Regions from separate parts of the Homo sapiens genome. Here region 1 is linked to region 2. The links are contacts of gene promoters, found by promoter capture Hi-C in blood cells and fetal thymus (Javierre and others, 2016). All regions are on one chromosome and are shown on one strand. The core of a region is centred on a gene start or on the middle of the fragment in contact, and the rest is flanking DNA. Distances in the headings are between cores, read along the strand shown. Region 1 overlaps PNPLA8 (patatin like domain 8, phospholipase A2). Region 2 holds the start of NRCAM (neuronal cell adhesion molecule).

What was found. The method cuts DNA at HindIII sites, captures the fragments that hold promoters and counts their contacts. A CHiCAGO score of 5 or more calls a contact.
Region 1: a contact is called between a fragment that was not itself captured here and the fragment with the promoter of NRCAM in region 2, in 1 of 17 cell types (naive CD8 T cells). The highest score is 5.7, in naive CD8 T cells.

What each region holds. Positions count from the first base shown.
Region 1 is chr7:108,490,268-108,493,358 of GRCh38, reverse strand. PNPLA8 (patatin like domain 8, phospholipase A2) reads left to right here. Exons shown (of 11, transcript NM_001256007.3): 8 at 1,892-1,949. Among named protein-coding and RNA genes, the nearest start is that of PNPLA8, 34 kb to the left of the region's middle. The HindIII fragment of the contact is 536 bases long and covers 1,421-1,956 here.
Region 2 is chr7:108,454,395-108,457,829 of GRCh38, reverse strand. NRCAM (neuronal cell adhesion molecule) reads left to right here and starts at 1,394. Exons shown (of 33, transcript NM_001037132.4): 1 at 1,394-1,587. The HindIII fragment of the contact is 7,436 bases long and covers 1-2,953 here.

The DNA of each region.
Region 1 (3,091 bases), core at 439-2,938, 35 kb before region 2:
ATGAAAATTTAAAAATTTATTCTAAAACCAGCTTCTCTACTATGAAATTTTTCCTTTTGTTACTTATGAGAGTATCTTTGCATATTTATGTATTGCTGTCTCATTTTTGCTCTTCTGGCAACTTCTTTATTTTTAATCATGGCATTGATAAATTTTATCAGTGTCGTTAGTTGTTTTTTCTTTCTCTGCTTTTTCAAACTCAGCCTTTGCTGCAGAACAAGCCACTCCAAAACTTAGTGGCTTAAAACAATGATGATTTAGTCTCATGACTCTGTGGTTTGACTGGGTGTTTCTTCTGTTCTTGCCGGAGCTCACTTGGTGGCTCTACCAATGGGCCTGGGAAGCCTCTCTCTCCACCTGGTCATTCTCACCCAAGCTTCGTCTCATCATTGTGGTTTCAGAGTTCCCAGAGAGCAAGCCCCAGTGCATAAGCACTTATCAAGCCTCAGTTTAATGGCATGTTTGTTGAGGTCACATGGACGAAAGCCATGCCAACCAAGAGTCTGTATAGGAAGAGACTGTATACAATGACATGGATACCAGGACTGTGATTCACTGGGTGCCAGTATTGTTAATATTCTTCTATATCTACCTTCTGGCCTTTTTTGTCGTAGCATTTTTTCGCCCATTGTTTATTGAGAGGACTTTTATTTATTTATTTATTTTGCTGTGATAATTTTGTGTTATTTTAAGGGAACTATTTTATGCCATCAGTAGAATCTAGGCATGTTGATTTTTTTTTCATATTTTGACATCTCGGAAATAAACAATTACCATTGCTTTTTTTACAAGTTTATATTCATAAGTGAATTCACTAAAAGCATTTTAGGTTTTGAGAAAACCAAGATTTAAACAAATATAAAAATAAATAAATATGAACTTTGCCAAAAAGTGTGAAATCAGCATGCTCCTAGGATTTCTCTTGTAATTTTACAGTAAGAATTCTGTGAAAAGACAAAGAACCTTAAAAAGATAAAATGCATTGATCTTTATGTAGTAGAAATGTATAGATCAGGTTGGGAAAGACAAAAGATCTTGTCCATTTTGGAAAGTATTTTACATTGATATTTATTAAAGCTTATAAAGGGTAGATCACTGAGCAGTTTGTAAATATTCTTTTTATGAAGTTCACTAATATTCTAGTTGGGAAACATGAGTATTGTTTGAAAAACACATTAGAAAATGGTTTTACTCATGAGGAAGGCTGGTGAAACCATAGTCTTTGTATTCAATATAGGGAAAATACATAATTTTTAAGTCTGGAAAAGTCTGCATTGAAATAAAATTCTCTTATTATGGAATTGCAAAAATTGCTGCCCAAGGACAATTTCTGTAATGTCATAGTAATTCAAATGCCAACTCTGATGATTTTCAAAGCCATTTTCTTGATGACATTGGCTGTTACCAACTAAAACAAGCTTAAAGTCTCATTGTCCTCACCTGGTTACTCTAACTAGCCCGTGCATACTTCTGCAGTCTTATCTCAACACAGCTCCTTTATCCTATTGGCAGGACCCTGAAAACAACAGATTTATTTTGCCTTTGTGCCTTTAATCTGTATATGTCCTAGCTTTAAATATGTTGCCTTGCAGTCTTTCAATGTCTTCCTCCAGCAACCTTCCTGCATCTTTTCCAGTTACTGCCCCTCTGTTCGTTGCTCCACCTCAGAACTGTAGATACTTGCAGTTTGAATCAGAGGTTGATAAATAACTGCATATTGTTTCATGTGCATTAATGGAATTATAAGCCTCCTAGAGGAGAGTCTTACATGTTTTCCTTCATAGCACTTTGACAAAGCCATGGACAAATAGTAATTGCATACTGTATGTTTCCTGGTTGTTAGGAGATAAAGTCATTTTGATATAACTTATTTTTTTCTCCTTTAATAAAGGGATAGGATGGGATCTGCACTGATGATTGAAACAGCAAGAAACCCCACATGTCCTAAGGTAAGCTTAGAGTCTCTTAAATATAACACCTAGTTCCATCTGAAGGTCTGGTGAAAGCACTTGTCCTGAGGGCCATTTTATTTTATTTTATTTTTATTTTTTGAGACAGAGTTTCACTCTTATTGCCCAGGCTGGAGTGCAATAGCACGATCTCGGCTCACCATAACCTCCGTCTCCCAGGTTCAAGTGATTCTCCTGCCTCAGCCTCCCAAGTAGCTGGGATTACAGGCATGCACCACCACGCCTGGCTAATTTTTTTGTATTTTTAGTAGAGACAGGGTTTCTTCATGTTGGTCAGGCTGGTCTCAAACTCCCAAACTCAGGTGATCTGCCCGCCTTGGCCTCCCAAAGTGCTGGGATTACAGGCATGAGCCATCGTGCCCGGCCCTGAGGGCCCTTTTATTAAGGTATTACAGATTGTATTAATTCTTTATATATTGAGTCATTCTATGAAGAGATGGGATATCATCCTTATACCTTTTATAAATTCGGTAAAACTATACCAGAAATGGAAGAACATGAAAGATGGACTGAAAATAAGAATTATTTCATCATAATTTTAAAAATCAAATCTAGTGATTTAAGGAACATTATGACATTTTTTACCCTAGTTTTTTTTTTTTTTTGAGACGGAGTCTTGCTCTGTCGCCCAGGCTGGAGTGCAGTGGCACAATCTCGGCTCACTGCAAGCTCCGCCTCCCGGGCTCACGCCATTCTCCTGCCTCAGCCTCCCAAGTAGCTGGGACTATAGGCAGCCGCCACCACGCCCGGCTAATTTTTTGTATTTTTTAGTAGAGACAGGGTTTCACCATGTTAGCCAGGATAGTCTCGATCTCCTGACCTCGTGATTCGCCCACCTCAGCCTCCCAAAGTGCTGGGATTACGGGCGTGAGCCACCGCGCCCAGCCTTCTTACCCTAGATTTTTAAAGAGAAATTTTATATGCCTCTTAGATACAATACAATCATGCATCACTTAATGATAGGGATACATTCTGAGAAGTGTGTCATTAGATTATTTTGTCATTGTGCAAGTATTATAGAGTGTACTTAGACATACTTAGATGGTATAGCCTACTACACATGTAGGCTAAATGGTATAGCCTATAGTTCCTAGGCTATAAACCTGTGTTATAGAGTGTAC
Region 2 (3,435 bases), core at 145-2,644:
TGAGAGGTGCAAGGTACCACCTGAATGGCAGTTGGGTAAGGACTAGAGTCAGAAGAACCACTGATGGGACTGTGGAAACAACTTGTGCAATGACCCAGCAGCCAGATATCATGCTGGTTCAGGAACCGAGGGAGGCTCTGTGAGGCCAGAGCACATTTGGCTGGAGAAGGAGGAGAGGATGGCAGTAGAAGGAGAAGGAAAAGAAGGCTGCTCACTTGCATGCAGATGCTGTGAGCTGACGGGGCAAGTTCAAATTGAAGTTAGAACAGACCACTGGGGTAGTCAAGACCTTGAAGGATGAACCTGTTTCTTTTTCATTCCTGAATCTTGCCCCAGCACCTTGGAGGCTGGGGGTGGAGGAGGTGGTGAGGTGGGGTGGGGTGGTGAGGAGCTCAGAAAATGTTTTCCTGAATTAGAGAACTGAAGGAATCAAGGCTCCGCTGAGCTCACTAAGCGCTGGAGCCTGCTGTAAGTGGTCAAGTCGGGTGATACCCAGCAGACAAGTAATTTGTGTGCAGACCGGAGTAGATTACGGAGGACCCAAGGGTCAGGCTAAGGATCCTGAACACCATCCACGATAGAGTGGAGACGTGCGCTTCGGAGCCTGAACTATGCAGCAAGCAGTGTGTTTACTCAAATACTATACAGTTGGAAAATCTTAATTCTCGATTTACATTGCCAAAAAAAAAAAAAAAAAATCTCCATAATACTCCCCCATTTGTAAATAAGCAAATCCGAACTAACCCTATTCCTTGGGACCAGAAGACCCAGTTTCTACCGCGGATAGATAGCATCCGCCTTATGCTAAAAGCTCTTTTTTCTGCGGTGGTGGGGGGCGGCGGGGAGTGTTTGGAAAGAACGGTTGCAAAAACAAAACAAAACCCCCAAAACCACTCACCCAATCTCAACCACCCCAACTGATGAATTTCGAAGAAAGTGCTTTTTAAAAAAGAAAAAACTAGAAGACCACAGACCTCCCACAGAAAGCTAAACCCATGAGAGTGGCATTCAAAAACTACCCATTTTCTGGAACATCTTTTGTAGCTAAATCCCAGCCATCCTAGCCCCGGAACACTCCCGCCCTCCGTCCCCGCACCCCCACCCCCGCCGCCACACGCGCTCGCAGGCTGACGGAGGTTGGCGGTGGGGCGGCCGCTCAGGTGAGGGGCCACCCAGTCCCTCGAGGCGCCGGCGGCTGGAGCCCATTCGCTGCCGTCGCAGCAGCAGGGCAAGAGGGGGTTGGCCAGGAGGGGAGGAGGCGGAGGACGCCCGCAGGGAGTGCGGGGGAGGGGGACGGGAGGACGCTAAGGAGAGCCGGGAGGGGCAAAAGCACGGCGCGGGGAGGGGGAGCGGAGAGGGCGGGAGCGGCGGGGGCGCGCGCCGGCGCGGGGCCAGCCTCGCTTCGCCAGGGTCGCTGGCGGACGCGCGCCGCAGTCCGAGCCTCAGACGCGCGGGCGCGGGGGACGGCGCAGGGGCCGCCTGGCTGGAGCAGCCAGAGGGGATAGCTTCGTCGAGAACGGAGGACACCGGCGGTCCAGGGTCCTGGGCAGTCGCGCCAGAGCTGAGCGGAGGGCGCGGCGCGAGAACGTAAGTAGCTCCTTGCGCGTCTGGCGGTGACACTGGGTCCTGCTCGGGGGTGACGGCTGGAGCGGAGGAGGACGCGCGAGGCTGCTGCGTTGTCACTTGGACACCGCCGCGGGGTTCAGCCGAGCGCTCACCGGGCTGGCAGCGCTGCAGGAGGGGCAAAGCAGATCTCCAACTCCCTTCTCCCCTGCAGGCCCCCGACACTCCCGCGGGCGCCGAGAGGGAGCAGGGGGACCTGCGCTTGGGTGAAGGCACAGCTGAAATCCAGCAGCGCCGGCACCCACCACCCCCTCCAGCCTGTGGCCAACTTCTGCTCCGCGCCCGCACCCCACGCTTTCCGGGAAGCCCTGCCCAGAGCTCTTGCTCGTGGGCAGTTGGGCATGGAGAGCCTGCGGGCCCGGCACGGCGGCTTCCCGGGCTTGGACACGGAGGCGCGGGGCGTCACGCCACAGTGCCGGCGGGGCGAGGAGCGCGGGGGCCGGGCCGGGAGCGCACGGGCGTGTGCCTGTTCGGGCCCCTGCGGACACGTCTGGGCGTGGGCTTTGTTCGGAAGTGCGTACACCTGTGCTGACCACGGAGTTCGGGGGCGAGGCCGACTTCGCTTCTCCAGTCGCTGCCTGGAGAGGGCTCGGGGAATCGAGGCGGAACGAGAGAGACACGGAGGACAGAGGGGTGGGGCGCTTGCGGGGGCTTTGTCGGCCTTACAGGTGCGGGTCCCGGGAGTCCCTGCGCCCCGCCCTGCCTCCGAGGGCTGGGACTTGTCGGGGCCGGCGCACCGGGCTGGGGGCTGCCTGGAAAGATTGCTTTCCCAGCCCAGGCTCTTAGCGGTGGGATCTGGCATCCGCTCCGCCCGGGATGCTGTGTTGAGCCAGGAGTGATTACCCGCCCTGGAGCATCCATCTCGCAGCGAGCGCCATCTGCGCCGAGCGCCGCCCCCGGCCCCCTCCACGCCGCGCGGGTGGGCGCTGCCGCATCCTGGTCCCAGGCGGTTGGCCAGCTCAGCTACTCCCGGCCCGCATCTGCTAGAGTGCGGAGGGGGACGGGGTGTCGCAGTAGGGTGAGCAAGGGAGTCGTCATTTCTCCCAAAGCGGTGTCCTCAGGGCCGCAAGCGCTGCTGGAGGGCTCCCCGGGCCCCGGGGCTGGCGAACAGGCCGCTTCCTTCCCCGGATCGCCTCCCCTCCCGCCCGCGCCCGCGGCCACATCTTCGTCCCCCGTACGCTGGCGGGTGGCCCCTGCGCCGCGGGCACCGAGGGAGGGCGCCGAGCGGTGGCGTTTCTTTCGCACCCCGCCTCTCTCCTTCCCTTTTCTTCGCATCAGGGGCTCCAGCCCTTGGCTACCACCGGCGCAGAACTGTCCTGAGAAGAAAGCTTTCTTTTCCTTTCCGAGTCCCAGATGGTTAACGCTCAGAAGTGCGGGTCTAAGAGACTGGGCTCTTCCTCGCCCCAGGCTTTTGCAGGAGGAGATGGAGCCAAGTGTAATGAGGCAGGAAGCATTGGTTGTGCACCAGGAGCTCCCCCTGGGGTGGTCCTGGAAAGGAACACAGTAACCTCTGAATACAAACCTCGGAGGCTGGGCTGCTTTATGGGACTGCATTGTGCTAACCATGCCCTGCTGTTAAAATATTGTAATAATGGCAGTACTTGCTGAAGTACTGAAATGGAGTTAGGCAACTGATACTTGCTGCTTTAATGGTAACGATAGCCAACCGGTTTTGAGAGCTTTAGATGTGCTGGGCGCTGCGCATGTTACATGTATCATCTCATTTAATTCTCACAGCAACCCCATTTTAAAAATTAGGAAATGAAGGCTTAGAGAAACCAAGTAACTTTCCCAAGGCCACACAGCTAGGAA